7 separate regions of the Homo sapiens genome follow, and all the other regions are linked to region 4. The links are contacts of gene promoters, found by promoter capture Hi-C in blood cells and fetal thymus (Javierre and others, 2016). All regions are on one chromosome and are shown on one strand. The core of a region is centred on a gene start or on the middle of the fragment in contact, and the rest is flanking DNA. Distances in the headings are between cores, read along the strand shown. Region 1 has its middle 3.3 kb from the start of TLR3. Region 2 holds the start of CYP4V2 (cytochrome P450 family 4 subfamily V member 2). Region 3 overlaps CENPU (centromere protein U). Region 4 holds the start of LRP2BP (LRP2 binding protein). Region 5 overlaps CASP3 (caspase 3). Region 6 overlaps IRF2-DT (IRF2 divergent transcript). Region 7 has its middle 33 kb from the start of TLR3.

Region 1 (3,035 bases), core at 525-3,024, 670 kb after region 4:
AAATATTCACAGCTTTTTGTATATCGATCATACCTCGATAGAGTGGCTTAAAATGAAGGAATAAAACAGTGCATATCTCATGACATTAAAAAAAAAGTATCACTTTCAACTACCTTGTAAAATTACAAAAAATACAATAAATAAATAAAAGTTTAGGTTAGGCTGGGCGCGGTGGCTCACGCCTGTAATCCCAGCACTTTGAGAGGCCGAGGTGAGTGGATCACAAGATCAGGAGATCGAGACCACCTTGGCTAACATGGTGAAACCCCGTTTCTACTAAAAATACAAAAATTGGCCAGGTGTGGTGGCAGGGACCTGTAGTGCCAGCTACTCAGGAGGCTGAGGCAGGAATTGTTTGAACCGGGAAGGCAGAGGTTGCAGTGAGCTGAGATCGTGCCAGTGCACTCCAGCCTGAGAGACAGAGTGAGACTCCACCTCAAAAAAAAAAAAAAAAAAAAAAAAAAAGTTTAGATTAAACCAGAAGCTCTCTGTGGCAAACATTGGTTTCTTTTTCAGAGGGGAAATTCAACTTCAATACTGCTCAGTGGACATGAGCGAGAGTAGGGAGAGGGACATTTGTTATTTTCTCTCTTAAAGTTGTTGCTGGGGTCTTTGGTTGAGCCTAGTTCAAACTAGCGAAAGCTCAGTGAGCAGAAATAGAAGTGACACTGGTAAGAGGAACTGTATCTTCACTTTAGAGAAAGGATTCAGAAAGAAAAGAAATGCTTCCTAGAATTTCAGCCAATACAGATCAGAACCATGTCCTTTCTGAATGGGGGCTGTGAAGGGACCAGTTGAGTGCAGTTCACAATGACTGTCTATCTGGTGCTCTCAGGGAATTTAACCATTTGTTTAGGTTCATAATATATTCATCGCATTACATACCCATGAGAAGTTTGAATGATGAAAAGGTCTAGCCTTACTTTGGCTTCCTGCCAACCCAGAGAACATTGGTTGGTCCAATCTCCTTGTTCCTATTCTTAAAAAGTAAACTGATACTAATGGCACAATATATGTTATTTGGGTGATGAATACCCTAAAGACCCTGACTCCATCACTATGCAATCTACGCATGGAACAAAATGGCACTAGTACTCCCATAAATCTATACAAATAAAAAAGTAAACTGAGGCACAATACAGTTTTACAGTGCTTCTGAACCAGCAATGATTCATGAACCAGAAGTGGTTGGGGAGCTCCACCAAGGGAACACAAGAGAAGGCTTTTTCAGGACAGAGACAGAAGTAGAGCAAAGACAGCGCTTGACTGTTTACAGTTATACAGCTACCTTATTTGGTCTATCTCATTGGAAAGTCCTTAGTTATATAAGTTTGTTGGCTGCTTCTGATTGGTTGTGTTTACGTTTTCTTTAATATAGGCATTTACAAGATATAGTGCTCAAGTTATTATGTTTGCGTATGTCACTTATGTTTGCAGATCAAGCAAGGTCGAGGTCGCTTATGAGCCCTTGCTGGTTTGGTATGTTCATGGATTCTTCTGGCCTGGTCTCCATTTTAATGTACTTTAACACCATGAATAAAGGTTTACTTCTGAGACTCTAAGAGCCCGTTTAAATTAAACCTATGCATGATATTGCCTCAAATACCCAACAGCTCACTCATAATTGGATATTCATTGCTGGCACAAATGTTAAGTATTACTGAGCAATTAGTTCTCTCTATATTTGGCCCTCACAGAGTGTAATTATTGTATTGTTCAGTACTAATCTGCCTTTTCACATACATGCATTGAGAGGAGAGTCTTCTGTTTGCCCCACAATTTCAATTCTCTATATTTGTGGTTAGAAACTGCGGTGACACAATCCTCATGTCTAAATTCATTCATTCGGGAGATTGTAAAGATGGTTCCGTAAAGCCTCAGTATTGTAGGTGCTGATAATGATGATAATGAAAATGATAAACTTTCCCTTATAAATCTTATAATGAATTGACTAGACTGCCTACAGACTATACACTATCTTTGTCTATAGGTAAAATGGTTGTAATTGGCCGGGCGCAGTGGCTCACGCCTGTAATCACAGCACTTTGGGAGGCCAAGGTGGGTGGATCACGAGGTAAGGAGATCGAGACCATCCTGGCTAACACGGTGAAACCTCGTCTCTACCAAAAATACAAAAAATTAGCCGGGCGTCGTGGCACGTGCCTGTAGTCCCAGCTAGCTACTCTGGAGGCTGAGGCAGGAGAATTACTTGAACCCGGTAGGCGGAGCTTGCAGTGAGCTGAGATCGCGCCACTGAATTACAGCCTGGGTGACAGAGCAAGACTCTGTCTCAGGAAAAAAAAGATTAAAAAAAATAAAAACGGCTGTTTTATTAAGAATTGTTATTAGGAACGGGCAGAGAAGAACAGTGTCTGTGTAGTTCAGCATGTGAGTGGTAATTTGCTAATTATATCTGGCTTGTCACTCCGGTCTCTGTAACTTGCTGTGTTTTGTCAAGTGATTCTTCCAGAAATTTTGTGTATATTATCTTACTAAACTCTCATTAAAGAGGCCCCTCAAATGGAAGAAGGGAACTTAGAGTTTTTAGAATGTGAATAAATTTAAGGGACTTTGGCTTCTAGAATTCTGTAGATCTCTGTTTTGCTGGGAATATACAGCTTCCCATTATTCTGAGATTGGCTGATCTGTAATGCTGTGAAATATCAGTGTTTACTAAATTTGTTATTTTACATTTATGGGCATACATTTTTTTTTAATTCTCTCTCTCTCTTTTTTTGAGACAGGGTCTCCCTCTGTTACCCAGGCTGGAGTGCAGTGGCGCACTCATGACTCAATGCAAACTTGAATTTGCCTGGACTCAAGTGATCCTCCCACCTCAGCCTCCCAAGTAGCTGAGACTATAGGCATGCACCAACATGCCCAGCTAATTTTTGTAATTTTTGTAGAGATGGAGTTTTACCACGTTGCCCAGGTTGGTCTTGAACTCCTAGGCTCAAGCAATCTCCTAAAGTGTTGGGATTACAGGCATGATCCACTGCTCCCAGCCTTAATTCTTTTAAAAAGGGGAAAAATGA
Region 2 (2,960 bases), core at 229-2,728, 800 kb after region 4:
AGAGCACATGTGCAGGTTTGTTAAATTTGCCTGACGCTGAGGTTTGAGTTTCTATTGATCCCCTCACCTGAATAGGGAACACAGTACCCAATACACAGTTTTTCAACCATTACTCCCCTTCCTTCCTCCCCCTATTTTAGAATCCCCAGTATGTAGACAAATTGTTTACTTTTATAGCTGTAATTAACCTTATTATAGCTCAGCCTCAACCCTTTAGAGAGGAGGAAACTAAAGCCCATGAGACTTGCTTAAAGATACTAAGTGAACATATTTATTTTTTAAAGTGTTAAAGTGATTAAACAATGTAGACGTGAATGAAATAAAAAGCGTAAGTTCCCCATCTTCATTCCCACTCCATAGAGCTGATCAGTATTTTTACTTGCAGACATTAGTGGAGCCGTAGAGAAAGAAACCTTTTCTCCAAAAGAAGGCATTACTTTACACACTCCGTTCTGCAACTTGTTTTGTTCACTTGCTATTTCACGTCAGCCCATGCAGATGACTTAAAACAAATTCAAATGGAGAAAAGCCTTAGGCATGTTTTTCTCTGCACTAAAGAGGCCCTGCAGGTGGCTGTGGCCAACTTATGCAGTGGCTTCGAGTGAACGAACGTAATTAGTAATTAAGCAAAGCGGGCATCCAGGACATTCAGTTTCATCTTCCTGGCACTTTAGTGTTTAGGAAGGGCCTGGCCTCTCGGGGAGCGACACTCCTCGCCCGGCCACTTTGTAAGAAGCATCGAGCGTGGAAAAGGGGCTGGGGTCAGCACTGGGGCCCTCTGCCGGGAAGAGAGACTGGCGGCCAGCACACGCGTCTCCCCAGGCTGAAATGGGGCACCCTCTCGCGGCCCTTCCCTCCCTTCCCGGGCTGGGTGGCAGGTCTTGGCTCTTCTGCGAGTACCCCGCGGCTGCGGTCTCCCGGCACCCGCTGAGCAGCCTCGCCCGCCTTCCTCTCCCACCCGCCCCTGCGTGCTCTCCGGGGCTCCGGCTTCCTCGGTCTGGTGCCTGGTGCGTATTTTGGAAAATACCTGGCTCATAACCACCTCATTGAGCTCCCAGTGTCCCAGTGGGCCAGCGGACACACACGGGTAGCTGACTTCCCTAACGTGTCCCCAAAGCCTCCCTGGATTACAGCGCCCGCTGCTCCATGTGACCCCGCGGGAGCCAGGACGCGCCCCGCCTCCCGGGGCTGCAAGTTGCGCAGGGAGCGAGCGATGCGCAGCAGAGCTGGGCTCCGAGCCGGATGCGCCTTCCTTTCCTCTCCAGAGCAGGCTGCCCGCCCGCGGAATCCCGCACGTAGAGCAACCTCGCAGCACCCTCAGAACAGCCCCGCTGGGGCGCGCCGGGCTGCCGCGGTGACCTTTCCGACGCCCCTGACCCCGCATCCGGAGGCGGCCGGAAGTGTCGCCGGCCTCCTCCCGGCGCAGCCTCCGGGCCTCCAGTGCAATCACTACGCCCTGGGGCCCGGAAACCGTTTTCCGGTCTTTCGCTTTCGGCTGGGGCGTGGAGGCCGCGGTGCTGCGTAGGCCGGGCCGGGCGCAGGAACAGCCCCGTGGCGCCCTCTCTGGCCGCCGCCCGGGCGGGAAACGTCGTTCCGGGGACCGGGCGACCCCGCAGCGGGGAGCGCGCCAGGTCCGCGCGGGGAAGTGGGCGGTGTGCGGCCGGCACCGCCTCGCACCACGCCCCCGCGGGCCCGCACTTTCCCGGAGTGCACCCCGCGGCCGCCAGCCGGGGCGATGGCGGGGCTCTGGCTGGGGCTCGTGTGGCAGAAGCTGCTGCTGTGGGGCGCGGCGAGTGCCCTTTCCCTGGCCGGCGCCAGTCTGGTCCTGAGCCTGCTGCAGAGGGTGGCGAGCTACGCGCGGAAATGGCAGCAGATGCGGCCCATCCCCACGGTGGCCCGCGCCTACCCACTGGTGGGCCACGCGCTGCTGATGAAGCCGGACGGGCGAGGTAAGGGCCGGCGCTCCTCCTGGAGCGCAACGGGGTCCGCAGCCCCGTTCCCACCCTCCGATCAGCCAGGAACCCGCTGCTTGTGGCGCTGGCCGCAGGAGAGAGGAGCCTGTCACCCTGTGGAGAATGCACTCCCAGTTCTAGTCGTTGCCCCTTGGCACCCGCCGACACTGCTAGTGCCCCATCCCAAAGTGAGCATTTTCTTTGTGTGTAGCACAGGATGCGGTATTTCCAAACCCCTGCCCTCGGTCTTTTCCCACCTCACCGCTGCTCAGCTCTCAAAGCCCTGCCGTTTCCTCCTGCCTTGGCTTGGGAAGCCTTAGGAACAGAAGCTCCCTGGGAGCACAGAGCGGTTTTAAACTGGCCAACACCTTAACGCCCAGAGCCGCCCTCCTCTCGCTGCCACTTTGGAAAATAAGAGACTAGAGATTCACTGGACGCTTCCTCCCGGCATCACAAGACTTGACTGCTGCTTCAGTTCCCGCTTGACCTTCATACTTTAGCCCTTTAAAGGATGTTACATAATAACAATTAAGAGACGGCAGGGCCTTCAGGCAGACTTCTTTGGAGGGTGTCAAACGCCTTGTTTATTAAAGAGTGAATTTTTTAATTAAAATCATGTTTTAAAACAGAGATGGACATTTTATTGATGGAAAAAAATCACGTTAAGTTAGAAAGCTCTCAAAAGTACCTGGTATTTACAACTCCCTGTCAGGGAGGGCGAACTCGATCTCAGAGTTTTATTTTCATCAGGGATTACGTTGAGGTACCCAGAAATGAGAAGATTTGCCCAAAATGGCATATTTTAAAATTGGCCCAGACCAGAACCCAGTTTCCTCTGGGATTATTTGTTAGTAATCGTTTTACAGGCTGAGCATTAACTAACTCCAAAGCTTGAAGGACTTTTTCTCATTTTCACTTGTTTTCTCTAATAAAAATAATGCTGTAATTTCAACTTCACAAGATGAGGCCTCATGGAAGAGTGTTTACCAAAATATTAAAAATACTTTG
Region 3 (3,222 bases), core at 490-2,989, 660 kb before region 4:
AAAGGACAAGAAAGTAAATTCTTTTAGGCTTTGCAGGCCGTAAGGTTTCTGTTTTGACTACTAACTCAGCCACTGTCACATGAATGCAGACAGTAACCACACAGAAAAGAATGAGCATGGCTGTGTTCCAATACAATTTGACTTTTGAACACTGCAATTTGAATTTCATATCATGTTCACATATTATGACATAGTCTTTTTATTTTATTTCAACCATTAAAAAAGGTAAAAACCATTCTTAGCTTGCAGGGATATACAAAAACAGGTGGCAGGCTAGATTTGGCCCATGGGCCAGTTTGCCTAAACCTCTGACCTAGGGAAAGTGATGGGTCCTGTCTCCGGAAATATGCCCATATACCCAAAAGTTCATAAACAGTTTTAAGGGTACACATGTGTAAAAACTCCTGACTAAAGGACACCAGGGTTTAGAGTTCAATATACTGATACACCCATGAAGTCTGCTACCCCAAATCTAATGAAACATGAAAACATACATAAAATGAGAAAAACTTTCATGGTAGTTCCAGAAAATGTGGAAGGGTACTATTAACAGATACAAAAATAAGAAAATTCTGGAAGGTATAAAGGAGGTCAAATAAAATTGGCAAACCATATAAAAACTTGACCATTCAGATGCCCCCAGTGAAAGAATCATTCCTGGAGTGCTTGGGGGTGGAATGTGGAGAGAGCTGGCAGGTCTTCCAGCCCCTCCCAAGGCATAGGGGGCCTCCACCAGGGACTGCCTTGCAGAGGGAAGGACAGGAAAGCTGAATCCATTCCAGGCACTCTGGGCTTCCAGCTAAGGCTGGAGCTTAGAGAAATCCCTCCGAGGCACACTGTACTTTGGCTACCAATGGCAGGGGCAAGGCAGGACAGCTGAGAGAAATCCACCCAAAGAACCCGTGAAGTAATGCCGGGGTGGGAGCAGAGCGCTGAGCAAAACCCTGCAGGGGGATCCCAGGGTTTCCCAGAGGGGAAGAGAGCTATCGTCTGCAGGCTGGGGTTAAGGACTATGCAGGACAGAGAAAGCCCAGGGCAGAACAAGCAGAAGGAACTCCTTCCGGGGTGCCTGGCACTGTCATACACTGTTAATGTGAGATTACAATGTCAATCACACAAGCCACTGGAAAAAAAAACTGGAATTAGCTATCAAGAACGTTAAAGAAATGCACATGCCTTTAACATACATTTATTCTAAGACTCTAAAGAAAAGTAAACCTGTAATGTGAACTAAGTGGAGTATCATGAAATCATAAAACAATTCTTGAAAAGTACAATGAGGAGAAATGGCTTTAAGTGAAAAAAGCTTACAGCACTGTACAATTTTTACATGAAGTCAATTATCTAAACGAAAATAAAACCAAACTCGGCTCAGAAATAAAGGAAATTCTAAAACATTAACAAAAGTCATTTTATCCACTATACCGGAAAAAGTGTGAGGAAAATGAACACACTTTTTCACTACAATAAACATTGAACTTGCCAAGTGAAGTCTACAAAACTGAGGTACCCAAAAAATGTTATTTTGTACTGTCAATTTTGAGAAAACCACAACACAAAAAGGTAACTTACATCTTTCATGGAATGTGTTCTTTCTAAAGTGTTCTTTGAACGTCTTGCGCTATTAAACAGCAAAAAAACACAAGAGTTAGGAAATAGTTAAAATAACTGAGGAAACACCATAGTTATGACCCTTTCCGCGCATTTTTACCAAAAAAAAAAACAAGAACCCATATTCCACAAATTTATTTTTTATAGGTCAAATCCTATCACCAATGTATAAAATAACATACCTCTCCCCCTCAGGGACATGGAAAAGTTGGAATCCTGCTGTTAACTTTTTCCCTGAGGCCTTAATCAATCAGCAGTGATTGACTTTCTCTGCACAGCTGAACAAAGGGGAGGTAGGCTAACGCTAAGCCCCGACACCTGCTCCATCCGGTGCCTGGCTCTCCTACGTCCTTTTCTCATTTAATTCTAACAGTCCTATAAGGTAGAAGTGAATCCCATGTTACAGATGTGTGCTTGCCCACAGCAACACGGAGCCAGGAGGGAGACAAGCCTGCATTAAAATTTACATCAGTTCAAATCCAGGGCCTGCCCTCGACCTCCCTTGACACTCTCTCAGTTGGACCACAGCTTCAAATGATAAAGTTGTATATATATCTTCAACAAGCTTCAAGAAAACAAATGTAACAATGGTGACAAGAATAAAAACGGGAAATAACAGTGGCAGGATTATATATCATTATTACTAATAATAGTGCCAGCAGTCAGTGAATATGTACAGACTATCCTCCACCAACCAGGCATCGTACAAGGGTACGGGGGGGATACTCCAGGAGAATACAGTACATAATTAGACTTTAAAATATGCCATGCAGATTGCAGCCATATTTTTCTCATTTGTAGACAGCAAAATCAGCTTAGTCTAAACCAATGTTTTAGTATCCTTTTATCTGATATAATTTCAAGCTCACAGAAAAGTTGCAAACATAGCACAAGGACCTTCTGTATGCCCTTTACTCATGTGCTCTGTGTGTGTGTGTGTGTGTGTGTGTGTCTGGAGATACTGTGCACTTCCACCCCTAAATACTACAATATGTCTTTCCTAAGAGGGCATTATACTGCATATTCATGGTACAATTTCTAAAATCAAGAAATTTAACACTGATACCATAATCTAATCTACAGTCCATACCCAAATCACATCAATTGTCCTATAATGTCTTTTAAGATTGCCAGGCCAGCATTTTTAAAAAAACAAACAATAAAAAAGGAAAATATAAAATGAAGCATTGCACTGGATATACTATGTTCACAAGCCTTTTGTTTTATGTGTGGATGTGTGCACACGTGTACTAAGTGTGATGTAAAACATCATTACTGTGAATCACAGTTAAAAAAAAAAAGTTAGAAAACTGTTCAGAGCGGTGGTTCCCAGACTTGAGTGTCATCAAAATTCTCAAGAGGGCTTGTTGAACAGGTTGCTTGGCACCACCCCAGGAGTGTCTGATTCAGTCCCTCTGGGGTGAGGTCTGGGATTCTGCATTTCTAACAAGTTCACGATTTATTTATTTAATTCATGAAACCTAAGGAAGCAGGTAAGACAAGTATTGGTTTTATGGCAATTTTATAGATGATGATTCCGGGATTCAGAAAATTTAAGTGACTTATCAAGGGTCACATAGCCAGGTAACAGAAACCCAGCTACACACTAGA
Region 4 (2,995 bases), core at 4-2,503:
GAAGATATTTTACACTTCTTAGAAATACTCTTCCCTTCCTGGACTCCTTAGCAAACTCTTACTACTCAAGATTCAGCCCACACATCTCTCATCTATTCGGTCACTTACTCATCATCCAACGTTTTTTTTAACACTCGCTGTAAATGGCATCCTCGTTCTGGAAACGCATCTACCAGCAATTAAAACATGTAGAATTAGCACTGCTTAGGAGAACGCCTATAAAATATGCATCTTAGATCATCTTCCGTTTTAGAAAATTGATCCCACCTGCTACACGCCTGGTGAAACTCCAGTTACTTGCCAGTAAGATATTGTCCCCCAAATGTACTTATCCTGTTTTTGTGCATTATAAGCTTTGTTCAGTTTATAGTTTCTAGGCCCATTACTAAAGTCAAGTCAGATATCCAGCTGAGATACAACTTTTTTTTCTGAAAACAATGTGAGCAATGGACAGGTACGCTGTGATTAAAGGGAGAAAAGCTGTAACGACTCCCCAAATTTCCTTTCCTTATGAAATTTACGTATGTAACAGGAAGTTAAAAAATAACTACCACTTAATGCATACTGAACAGAATCTTGTTTCAAAGAAAAGATATGAAATATGGAGGCACTTTCACCACACAAATATCCCACTACATATGCTAACTGCAGTATTTATGTTCAAAACTGTAAGAACGTGTCTGATACCCTTTATTAGTTAGGAATTCCTGAAAATGAACTTCTGTGCAAACCTGAAGCTTCAACACGTGTTTTAAAAAGCAGTGCTTATTGAATTGATAAACAAAAGCGAAACTGGCAATATCAACGTGTGCTCACCTCACAAATCTGACAACAGTATCTCTACACTGCCGTTCTTTAAACATCATTAAAAGATATTGTGAATAGTTTAAATATTAAAAATGTGGAATATAAGAACGATTCTATATATTTGAACACACATTTATATTCAAATATTCATATGAATAAAAATGCTTAAAACTACCCCTTGGGTAACTAAGTATAACAACATAAACTTGCGATTGCAAATTTTATGGCTCTTACTACAAAACAAAAAGTAGAATGAAAAGACCACTTATCTTTAGAGGACAAGCATGAACTTGTTTTCTAACAGCATAACAATAAACGTATTTATTTCTCCGAGCTTTCAAAGGCATCAACAGAAGGGAATCACTAAAAATGTAGGGGAAAAGAAACACTCGGCTGGAGCTTTGGTTTCTAAGCAGATCCTTCTGGAAAGACGCTTAGGGAGAGTCTAGGGAGCAGCTCTGACGTCAGTAGCTGCCATCGGAAGTCAGGTCATGTTCTACAAAAAGCAGTGACGCACGCCCGACAGCACCCGCGGGGCCGGACAGCGGCTTCACCAGCCCCGCGGGTCCGAATCGCACGCGGCCGGGTCCGCTCTCCCGGGAGGAGAGCCCGGCGTGGACCAGCGTGACGACCCCAGCGTGCTGCGGCCTCTCCCCGAGGGCCCCTCCACAAGGGTCCCTGCGCGGGCCGGGCTCGGCCGTTGCCACTCGGGACAGCCATCCCCTCGAGTTCGCGCTCGCCGTCCCCGCCTTCACCTCCCGGGTTGGGAGGCGGGCGACTGCGCGCGAGGTAAAGGAACTTGCGTTCCCCGGCGCCGAGGCGGCAGCAGCGCAGTGCACAGCGGCTTCTGAAGGCGGCGTCGACGGGGAGCTGCGCGTGGCTCCCAGTTTCCTGGTTACGTGCGCGCCGGCAGAGCCAAAACCTGCAGCCGAAACTCCCGCTTCTCCGTAAGGATTAAAGGGCGGGCGCACTACCGGGAGACGTGTCAAACTCAGCGCGCCTCATGGCGGCCGCGGAGCCCCACCCGCTCCTACTCCAGTCCTCTCACGCCCACTGACTTACCCTGCGCACGCGCGCTGAGGCTCCGTGGGGCCGCCGCGGGCCCCGCCCCGAGGTGGGAGGGCCTGACGCATCCACAGCTGGCCAATCGGCGGATGGCCTCGCGCGCCCGCCCCCTCCCCCTGCCCCCGGCGCCGGGCTCCACGTGCCAGTGTTTGTGTACGTGCGGCCGTGGCGGGGCTGGACAGGGTCCGGGTCGTTGAGGATTAGGCTGCTCGGGCGTAACCGGAGCTGGGGCGCGGCTGCCAAGGGCCGGCCCGGAAGTCCCAGCGGTCTTTAAATTCTCCCGTGCTAGGGCCAGCCTGCGCATTCTTACCTGTCGGGGTGCGGCGAGTGTCTCACCTCTCTGCACTTCCAAGGACTCTTGTCATCTGCCTTAGGCGGGAAATGCTGTTGCTGGATTGCAACCCCGAGGTGAGATTCGGGCTCACAGAGCCCGAGCTTTTGTCCTGCAGGCTCAAGCTTCTAGATTCGTCTTCTCGTTAATGCGGGGACGGACCACTGGGCGCTGCCTGGTCAGAGCTGGTTGTGAAGGGCGGGGAGGTTTCCAGCCCGGAGGGGCGCGGGACTGGACAAAGGTGGGAAGGGTGCTGGATCTGTTCTCTTCCTGCAGGTGGATGGTCTGAAGCATTTGCTGGAGACAGGGGCCTCGGTCAACGCACCCCCGGATCCCTGCAAGCAGTCGCCTGTCCACTTAGCCGCAGGAAGCGGCCTTGCTTGCTTTCTTCTCTGGCAGCTGCAAACGGGCGCTGACCTCAACCAGCAGGTAACTAGGTAACTGTTGCTGTGTACAGCCGTCCCCTCCAACCCAGACACACACAAACATTTCTCAGACGCCAAGAGTTGTTTCAGCTGTTAAAAACATGTCTATAGCAGCGATGTCCAACAGAAATATAATGCAAGACACAGATGTAATTTAAGAGTTTTTTTCCAGTCTTGATGTGAGGACATGAGAAATTTGAAGTTTTTAAGTAGCCACATTAATAAACGAAACATGAAATTTTAGTATTTGACCCAATTTGTCCAAAATGTTATCAGTTCAATATGTAATCAAAGCAATTGCTGATTAGATATTTTACACTTTCTTTTATTCTGTCTTCACAATCTGGTGTGACAGCGTATCTCAAAT
Region 5 (3,208 bases), core at 72-2,571, 750 kb before region 4:
ACTCAAAGTACAAGCGTATTTTCGTGAGTCCTCCCAATGACACTCTGAGGCATAAGGATCCCCACTGCAGAGTTCAGGTGACTGAGGCTAAGAGAAGTTAATGAACTTTAAAGTCGCACAGCCAAGATTCAAACTAGGATCTTCCCAACTCAAGAGGGCAGACTCCCACTATTCTGTAGACAGCTTAGTACTATATAGGAATGATAACACTTAACTTCAGGGAAGGAAACAAAAATCCATAATCTCAGAAGCTTTAAATAAGACAAAGAAAATAAATAACATGATAGAAAGTTACTGCAGAGATAACAAAATAACATAATGCACTGAATTCTAATGAATGAAAAAATGGCAAAAATGACTATGGCATTTCTGATGCGACTAGGTAGTTTACTTTTGTGTTTTCTTTCCTTTTTTAAAAAAATTTAACAAACTTCGCATGTGGCATTCAATTTACTTCTAAAGTGAAATAGGCCAGACACAGTGGCTCGCGCCTGTAATCCCAGCACTTTGGGAGGCCAAGGTGGGAGGAATGGTTGAGATCATGTGTTCAAGACCAGTCTGGGCAACACAGAGAGACCCCATCTCTATAACAAAGTAAAAACAAGTAGCCTGGCATGGTGGCACACACCTGTAGTCCCAGCTACTCAGGAGGCTGAGGCAAGAGGATTACTTGAGCATAGGAATTGGAGGCTGCAGTGAGCTATGATCGCACCACTGCACTTGAGCTTGGGTGACACAGCAAGGCTGTTTCTAAAAATAATAATAATAAAAGTAAAATAACTGGTTTCATGTTCAGCGTTAGGTATATGTCATTAAAACATATTCCCTGTATCTCTGTGTTCCTCCAAAGGAAAAGTGAAGCCTGTCCAGCAGGACTTCTGGGGAGATTACACTTCTGTCAAACAACTTGAAAAATATCAGGATTATATTTATTACCTGTCAGAGAGGACAAAGTCTCAAAAGCAGTCACGTTTCCAGATTTAGCAAATGAAACAGAAAGAACATCTGTTTCACAATAGTTTGGACAAGAAAAGACTTCAGTTGTGATGTACCAGAGGTTTTATCAAAATCTTTTCCCATCTGGTCTCTGAATTCATTTGAGTACGTATAAGAATTATCAAACTGGCGATTGTAACTGGGCCTGGTGAAGTCAATCTTTTAATATTTGTTATGTAATTAAGGTAAAAATATGAGAACAGGAATGTAAAATCAAATACAGAATACATTGAAATAAGTTCCATTGTACTATACAAACAAACCATCCTTTCCTTTCCTCTGGCAAGGGCCACGTGACCAGGAAGACAGTACAGAGCACTCTCCACTATTCAAAGCCTCTGAGTTTATGACACAAGTTAGAAAGAAGGGCACTTAGTATGTGCAAACGATCTGTCTTCCCTGTGCCAGGTGAAGTCCTAAGATGGTGTTTTTGGAAGGACAAAAGGAGAAAATGGGAAAGCCTTCACAGATCTAAATGATTTGTATGATATAAGTGTAAAATGGAGGATCTCGGATGCCTTTTTATAAAAATTACAGATGACTTTAAAGCCTCAGCACTCCCACCAAGGATGACTACTTTGCAGAATCAGATTCAAGTTTAAAACCGCTTGAAGAAATCCTGCTGTCAGGAAGACTGAAACTGCCAAAACTCAGATTCAGTAGCATTTATTCATTTGATATTTGCACCATAACAATTTACTGAACACCAACTGTGTGCAGAGTACTATACTAGACCCTGAGTGTATCAAGCAGTGGAAGAGACAAACCCTATCTCTATTCAGGGCTTATACCGATGCTCACTGGTATTCAAAAGTGGCTCAACAAGGCAGATGCCAGACCGTGTCCAATACATATCAGGTAGCTTGATTTCATTATTGTAATGCAAAGAAGCTCTACAGGCAACATGTGAAGGTAAGAACAAAACATGCAGAGAAAGAATATTATATAAATCTAAGAATTCTCCCATCTTTGTTTAGGCCCAAACACCAGTGCTTCTTATCTTTGGGGCAGAGCTTAAAGATCTAATAGTAGGCACCAGAAGCAATGTAATATATCATTCATCAAAATAAAGACTGCTTTGTAGGGGGATGAAGCAGTAGGAGATTGTGTTAAACGAGGTTTGAAAACAAAACAGTAAAGAAGCATTATAATTGCCTATATCAGATGCCAGTCTCTTCAAATGGCAAGAGGCAAGGCCTTTATTCAGGATAGCAAAAGCAAATCTGATTTAACTAGGTACAATGTCTAATGTCTCTTACTTTGAACAGGTTTTATTGCCATACTCCAATAAACTGTTCATCCATTCACTAAAATAATTTTCACTTTCAAAAACCTTCTTTTGCAAAAAGGCAAAGCAAAACCAAAGTCCAAGCATCGGGCTGTGATAGAGATGATTTAAGCTTTATATTTCATTTTTAGAGATTATGTAACCACAGCACGCACATTCACAGTGGCTGAGCCCATTTTGATACAGTCTGGTCTAACCACCTTGCCTGGCCCTCTTTCAGCTATCTTGCAGGTTTACATCGTTTCAGTGACTCCGTATGTCACCTCTACCATTTCTTTTCTAATTATTATTTGCTGAATAATCCTAAACCAGGTCTACTTTTTCTAGATAGGGCATAAAAGTAAAAATACAATGGATGGGCATTCACTGTGTTATGCCAGGCCCCGCATTTGGGGCAAGACACTAAGGATACCAAGATAAACCAAGTCCGTCCCTCCTGGAGTTTGCTTGCAAATCTAGCAGGGAAGATAGTAAACAAGCAACTGCAAAGGATATGACACATCTCTCTTAGGGAATGCTGGCTGCAGAAAGAACACAGCATAGGAAGATTTAACCTTAAACTGTTTAATGAAAACAGAAATTTAAGTAGCAGCTCTTCTAATCAAATGTGATGGCGGGAGAAAGGGAGTGCAGAGGTGTTGCAGGCAGACACTAGGTATGAAGGTCAGCATTGCCGTGCAGAAATCGAACCGGTGCTAAAGATAAGGAGGGGTGGGGGCACTCAGGACCCAACACACGCAGGGGTTTGTTAGCCATATTAAGTGCTGGGTTTAACCTAAGGGCAAAGGACGAGCTTTCTAGACTTTCATTTCATAAAGATCCCTCTGCCTGTGCTGTAAAAAGTGGACTGCAAAGGAGCAGGCGGGTCTGGAAGTGGAGAGACCAGGGAAGAGGCTGCTGTGGTCAGACGGCTGAAATCAGAGA
Region 6 (3,178 bases), core at 225-2,724, 920 kb before region 4:
TCCAAACTATTGTGATGCTCATGCTTGACTTCCCAAGGAACGTGTTTCAGGAAAGGCCATTGCCCTCATTATGGTCTTTGATAAGCAGGAAGAAGTTTGTTGTTCCTTTTTTTTCTTAATGCCCTACTTCGTGCAACATACATCCAATCAGTCATATCCTATTGACGCTACCCCTAAATATCTCTGGGCCTGGCCCGTGCTCAGGGCACTGCCTTCATTCAGTTACTGCACTTGCCTGCTGCCTGTGCTCCTGGTCTCCTGCTTGGACTCCCCCAGGCCAGCAGCCACACTACTGCCAAAATCCAGTCGAAAATTAACTTCAGGTAAAGCACAATTCCAAACCTAACACTGCCCCCCTCAAAAGCCTCTCTGTAGCCTTCAGAATAAAGACCATATTATTTGACAAGACACATAAAGTCCATTGTAATCTGGCACCAAACGACCTTTCCAGCCTCATCTCCTGCCATTGTGTCCCACAAGCCCTACATCCCTCCCTTGCCAAACCAGCCTCCGCTCCTTTTTGTCAAACAACAGAGCTGTCCTCTTGTTCATTGTTTTATCTTTAGCATGGTGCCCAGCACACAGGCACTGAAATACTTGTGAATTAATAATTACTTGCTCTTTTCATCAGGCTCTCATAAAATATTTTAGACTTGATCAGAGCCTTGTTTTATATTTTAATAGCTTTTTAATATAAATGTAATTAATGTTTCTTGTACAGAATTTGGAAGATGCAAGAATGGTGAGAGAAGAACATAAGCCACCTGACATCTCACTAGTCAGGAATAGACCTGTGGATATTTTTATGTATTTCCTTCTAGTGATCTTTCTAAGGGACCGTTTCCAATCCGCATCTCCTCTGTCTGTGTGTAGGATTTAAGAATGCTGACTGTGCAGGCTGCTCTCCACGATGCCCATGTGACAGCCTGCTGTCCTATTCTAGTTCTTGGCCGGTTCCTCGTCTGCTGCCAGCCCCCTAAATTATGGTGTTTCCAGGCATTCTATCCTCAACCCTCTTATTTTCTCATTCTACATGCTTTATCTTTGGGTGTTCTCCTCCACGCCCAGGGCTTCAGATATCACTATTTGCTGATGACTCCAAAATCTGTAACTTCTGAGCTCTGACCACATTAACTCCTACACATGTCTCAGGTGCAACAAATTATACATGTCCCAAGTCAGAGAGAACATCTTTTCCACAGCCTTGCACTGTTCACTTCATTGATTAGCTGGGAAACTGGGAGGACTCACAGACTGCCCCCTTTCCTGAGTCCTGGGGCCTCCCTGAAGCATGGGTGTTGCTTGCAATTTTCCAGGCCCCTAAACTCATAAAACATAGACAGAATGAATTTCTGTTCTTAGGCCCTTGATGACATGTCACTGCAAACCAAAAATGTACAAATGAACCAAAACAGCCACATGGTACTGATATACACAGTCAAGAAGTATCTTAGCCCTTTGATGAGATGCATATAGTAATAAATCTCTGTGGAAACTCCAGCCTTTTTGGAAGCCTGGGTAAGAAAGTAGGCTCAGTGGCTCACGCCTGTAATCCCAGCACTTTGGGAGGCCGAAGCGGGTGGATCATGAGGTCAGGAGATCGAGAACATCCTGGCTAACACGGTGAAAACCCGTCTCTACTAAAAATACAAAAATTAGCCGGGCGTGGTGGTGGGCGCCTGTAGTCCCAGCTACTCGGGAAGCTGAGGCAGGAGAACGACATGAACCCGGGAGGTGGAGCTTGCAGTGAGCCGAGATCACACCACTGCACTCCAGCCTGGGCGACAGAGCCAGAGCGAGACTCCATCTCAAAAAAAAAAAAAAAAAAAAAGAGTAACCTTTGTCATACTGAGGAAATCTGACCAAACACTTCAGTCTAACGTGAAAAAAGTTGAAGGGTCTTTTATAGTGAAACTAGAGTCATCTCCTGGATGAAGCATGTTTGTATTTCACCTGTGGGATGGAATATCCTAAAAGATCTGCCTGGCTGCCTCAGGACTCATTTCTTTTCAGGGGAGTCGGGTGCAGACAATATTACTTGAGCACAATAGTGCCGGATCTCTCCTTGAGTGGATCTTAACTAAGGAAGAAATGTAAAGACACATTCAAAGTTGACCCCTTTCAAATGGGTTTTTAACTTAGTTTCCTAAAATTGAAACAAAGTTTCATAAAATGATCATTCAAATAAAATCTGTTGAGTGCTCAGGAACATTTCCCAGCACTAGGGATACAGCAGTGAACCAAATGAATGAAAGTGCCAGCCTTCTAAGACGTTTTCTTACAGTCTTGTAGGTTGACATGTTGATTTCCACTGTGGCATCCCAGTAATGGCACCGACATCATCTCCACCTGTAATCACAGCCTTCAGAACTGTACATGCAACTTAGGAATGTGTAACATGAAGGCATATAAATGAAAACCTAAGTATTTATAGCTATGATTTAATCAGGAGCCCCAGGTCTGCAAGCAGATGCTCAGTTTTCTCCCCAGAATCACTGGGACCACTTCTGTCTTGGCCACTGGAGCTCCCCTCCAAGGTGCTGCAATTCAGGAGGTTAGAAAGTCATGGAAAACGAGGGTTCCACCCTTGCCAGAACAGTTGCCAATACAAAAGCCACAGATTAACAGTCCTGAGTTGCAAAGAACATTATTGTGAAGTCCAAGTTGAATAAACACACAGCCAAGTTAAATTTTTTGCGGCAATAGAACAGCAATGGGATTGAAAAAACCATCAGTCAAAGTTCAAAGGTCATTGGCCTCAAGTTGAAAAATTCTTGAGCATGTTTGACTGTTACTTTATGTAATGGTTCCTTCCATTTTACAAGAAACTAGGAAGTGGGGGTCATTTTGTTGCAACTATTTTCTGAAAATCATGAGTTTACATTGAGTAATACATTGCTCAGTTTTGGGTGATACTCATTCTGCCCTGTTCTGAAGGGAAAACACATTCTCTAAAATTGCCTGGATTTCTGTGTGTGTCTGTGTGTGTGTGTGTGTGTGTGTGTCTATGTCTGTGTGTGTGTGCATCTCTGTGTGTTTGTGTGTCTGTGTGTGTGCGTGTGTGTGTGCGTGCGTGCGTGTGTTTTTCCTTTCCCAAAGGAAGGCTTTCAACTTTGAAAACTTCATGAAGTGTTTTTTGGCATAATTTCCCAAATGGCTGTGGAATATGTGAAATATT
Region 7 (3,049 bases), core at 354-2,853, 640 kb after region 4:
ACACTAGGATTCCCGATCCCTCAGGGTACAGATCACACCTGATACACGCACGGATTCCCAATCCCTCAGGGTACAGATCATGCCTGATGCACACACGGATTCCCAATCCCTCAGGGTACAGATCATGCCTGATACACACACGGATTCCCAATCCCTCAGGGTACAGATCACACCTGATACACGCATGGATTCCCAATCCCTCAGGGTACAGATCATGACTGATGCACACACGGATTCCCAATCCCTCAGGGTACAGATCACGCCAGATACACCCGTGGATTCCTAATCCCTCAGGGTACAGATCATACCTGATACACACTCAGATTCCCAATCCCTCAGGGTACAGATTATGCCTAATGCACACACGGAATCCCAATCCCTCAGGGTACAGATCATGCCTGAAACACACATGGATTCCCAATCCCTCAGGGTACAGATCACACCTGATACACACACAGATTCCCAATCCCTCAGGGTATAGATCACACCTGATACACACATTGATTCCCAATCCCTCAGGGTACAGATCATGACTGATACATACATGGATTCCCAATCCCTCAGGGTACAGATCACACCTGATCACACATGGATTCCCAATCCCTCAGGGTACAGATCACACCTGCTACATGCACAGATTCCCAGTCCCTCAGGGTATAGATCATGACTGATACACACATTGATTCCCAATCCCTCAGGGTATAGATTATGACTGATATATACATGGATTTCCAATCCCTCAGGGTACAGATCACACCTGATGCACACATGGATTCCTAATCCCTCAGTGTACAGATCACACCTGATGCACACATGGATTCCTAATCCCTCAGGGTACAGATCTCACCTGATACACACACTGATTACCAATCCCTCAGGATACAGATCGAGCCTGAGGCACACATGGATTCCCGATCCCCTTGCTGTATCTTCCCTCCCTCCCCAGCCCTCAAGTAGGGAAAGATTTCCTCAGACATATGAGGATACTTTGACAGAAAAAATTTCCAATTACTTTTCTAATTAGCACCTAAACATCCATCCATTTGTGTTATTACAATTAAAATTAAATTTTTATAAAACATTTTACAGGGTTAAAAAAAAGTCTGTTATTTTTCATATAGTAAATTTTTGATAATTCATAAGTATACAATTACCTATCAAGGGCTTGTTCTTATTTTCAAATACAGAGTCTGTATGCTTTTGTACATATTCAGTAGCTATTGCATCGGGTCAGGCACATGACAGGGGAAATGTGGTACCGATCTCTGATATAAGAAATAAGGAACAGGTTGAGCGATGTTCCCAATCCCTCTGCAGACCATCAGTTATCAACTGGTAAAGGCTGGGAATTGATGAGGTGGGCTTGAGCAGCAGCATCAACTCTTCAAGTATTTTACAAGCATCTGAGACCATTGACCATGGACTGTCCTCCAGAGAATTAAAGCTAACTTGTGGCCAGGCACAATGGCTCATGCCTGTAATCCCAGCACTTTGGGAGGCCGAGGGGGGTGGATCACTTGAGGTCAGGAGTTCATGACCAGCCTGGCCACCATGGTGAAACCCCACTCTACTAAAAACACAAAAGTTAGCAAGGCATGGTGGCGGGTGCCTGGAATCCCAGCTACTGGGGAAGTTGATGCAGGAGAATTGCTTGAATCCAGGAGGCAGAGGTTTCAGTGAGCCGAGATCATGCCATTGCACTCCAGCCTGGGTGACAGAGTAAGACTCTATCTCAAAAAAAAAAAAAAAAAGCTAACTTGTTTCTTATGTTTGTCTGATACTCCTAACTATTCCCATTACCAATTCACCTTGGTTGTCATAAACTTACTACTCAGATTCAAATCTCATTTGTGAGCTGATACAGTTTGGATATTGTCCCCTCCAAATCTCAGGTTGAATTATAATCTCCAGTGTTGGAGGTGGGGTCTGGTGGGAGGTTTTTGGGTCATGGGGGTGGATCCCTTATGGCTTGGTGCTGTCCTTGTGACAGTGAGTTCCAGAGAGATTGGTTAAGTGTGTGGCATCTCCTCCCTACTCTCTCTCTTGCTCCTGCTCTGGCTATGTGACCCACCCGCTCCCTCTTTTTCTTCCACCATGAGTAAAAGCTCCCTGAGACAGCCCAGAAGACAAGCAGATGACAGCACCATGCTTCCTGTAAAGCCTGCAGAACCATGAGCCAATTAAACCTCTTTTCTTATAAATTACCCAGTCTCAGGTATTTTTTTTATAGCAAGCCAAGAACAACCTAACACCAGAGCTGAGGCGAATCCAAATCTGCCACTTCAATCAATATCTCAGTCATTCTATTTTGGTGAGCAGGAATATAATGCAGATAAGCCAGAGACTGATGTGGCAAGCAAAACACAAAACTCTAGCAACTGAAATGACACAGCAGGGAAGCAAGCAGAGAACAGCAGCAAAGAGTGCAGGAAGGAATGGAGCAGGAGGAGCTGGAATGAAGACTCTAAATTCAGTTGCTGGGAAGGACAGTGAAATGATGAAGAAAAGCACATATTGGGGGGCAGGGTGGGGAAGAGGACAGGAAAGGAAATGTTGAAGGTAGGCAGATGAGGTCACAGAAGCTGGTCATTCATTCACTTGCTAACCTAGTCACTGACCAAATGAGTGCTTATTTAGAATAAAGTGTGGAAGGTTGCCGTGGGACATGACATACAGGGAACAGAAGGGAAAAGAATGTCATGGGTGACTGGTGACTATCCGGGCCAGTGGCACGGGGGTAAGAATTTATCAAGATAGTTGTAGGTAAAGAAAGGCAGGTTTAATAAAGAAAGTATAAAAATATGTTGCAAGAAGGCAACAGGTAGGCCAGCAGAAGAGGAGCTGACTGCCAGGAAACAAAGTCTTGCAGGGCTGGGGATTTTATAGAACTGTGCTTCTGCTGTGTGCTGAAGAGGGCTACGAGCAGTACTGATAACACCAGGGTTACAGGGAGCTCACTTACCCGTGCCTGGTGAGAAGGTGGGTAGAGGACGATTGAGTTATATTCATAGGAGGACTGGTCCTGGTGAAGAAAGGCAAGCCTACATAA

What was found. Contacts are between HindIII fragments. The CHiCAGO score rates a contact against its expected background, and 5 or more counts as called.
Region 1: a fragment that was not itself captured here is called in contact with the fragment with the promoter of LRP2BP in region 4 in 2 of 17 cell types (M1 macrophages and M2 macrophages); the score reaches 7.4 in M1 macrophages.
Region 2: a contact is called between the fragment with the promoter of CYP4V2 here and the fragment with the promoter of LRP2BP in region 4, in 4 of 17 cell types (total CD8 T cells, activated CD4 T cells, naive CD4 T cells and 1 more). The highest score is 8.3, in total CD8 T cells.
Region 3: a contact is called between a fragment that was not itself captured here and the fragment with the promoter of LRP2BP in region 4, in 1 of 17 cell types (fetal thymus). The highest score is 5.9, in fetal thymus.
Region 5: a contact is called between a fragment that was not itself captured here and the fragment with the promoter of LRP2BP in region 4, in 5 of 17 cell types (fetal thymus, non-activated CD4 T cells, total CD8 T cells and 2 more). The highest score is 6.6, in fetal thymus.
Region 6: a contact is called between a fragment that was not itself captured here and the fragment with the promoter of LRP2BP in region 4, in 1 of 17 cell types (fetal thymus). The highest score is 11.2, in fetal thymus.
Region 7: a fragment that was not itself captured here is called in contact with the fragment with the promoter of LRP2BP in region 4 in 1 of 17 cell types (endothelial precursors); the score reaches 8.6 in endothelial precursors.

Annotation. Positions count from the first base shown.
Region 1 is chr4:186,064,364-186,067,398 of GRCh38, forward strand. No RefSeq gene overlaps it. Among named protein-coding and RNA genes, the nearest start is that of TLR3, 3.3 kb to the right of the region's middle. The HindIII fragment of the contact is 6,011 bases long and covers 1-3,035 here.
Region 2 is chr4:186,190,089-186,193,048 of GRCh38, forward strand. It overlaps CYP4V2 (cytochrome P450 family 4 subfamily V member 2), which reads left to right and starts at 1,479. Exons shown (of 11, transcript NM_207352.4): 1 at 1,479-1,949. The coding sequence starts at 1,736. FLJ38576 (a long non-coding RNA gene) reads right to left here and starts at 1,402. Exons shown (of 1, transcript NR_046264.1): 1 at 1-1,402. RefSeq lists a silencer at 1,276-1,805. The HindIII fragment of the contact is 5,614 bases long and covers 1-2,840 here.
Region 3 is chr4:184,729,348-184,732,569 of GRCh38, forward strand. CENPU (centromere protein U) reads right to left here. Exons shown (of 13, transcript NM_024629.4): 2 at 1,573-1,621. Among named protein-coding and RNA genes, the nearest start is that of CENPU, 3.1 kb to the right of the region's middle. The HindIII fragment of the contact is 870 bases long and covers 1,305-2,174 here.
Region 4 is chr4:185,394,671-185,397,665 of GRCh38, forward strand. LRP2BP (LRP2 binding protein) reads right to left here and starts at 1,254. Exons shown (of 9, transcript NM_001377440.1): 1 at 109-1,254. It overlaps ANKRD37 (ankyrin repeat domain 37), which reads left to right and starts at 2,171. Exons shown (of 5, transcript NM_181726.4): 1 at 2,171-2,280; 2 at 2,480-2,632. The coding sequence starts at 2,254. RefSeq lists silencers at 1,377-1,566, 1,787-2,156 and an enhancer at 1,687-1,756. The HindIII fragment of the contact is 1,591 bases long and covers 736-2,326 here.
Region 5 is chr4:184,645,124-184,648,331 of GRCh38, forward strand. All of the region lies in intron 2 of CASP3 (caspase 3), which reads right to left. Among named protein-coding and RNA genes, the nearest start is that of CASP3, 2.7 kb to the right of the region's middle. The HindIII fragment of the contact is 2,145 bases long and covers 250-2,394 here.
Region 6 is chr4:184,476,895-184,480,072 of GRCh38, forward strand. IRF2-DT (IRF2 divergent transcript) reads left to right here. Exons shown (of 1, transcript NR_186573.1): 1 at 1-410. Among named protein-coding and RNA genes, the nearest start is that of IRF2-DT, 3.7 kb to the left of the region's middle. The HindIII fragment of the contact is 7,393 bases long and covers 1-3,178 here.
Region 7 is chr4:186,034,546-186,037,594 of GRCh38, forward strand. No RefSeq gene overlaps it. Among named protein-coding and RNA genes, the nearest start is that of TLR3, 33 kb to the right of the region's middle. The HindIII fragment of the contact is 7,458 bases long and covers 1-3,049 here.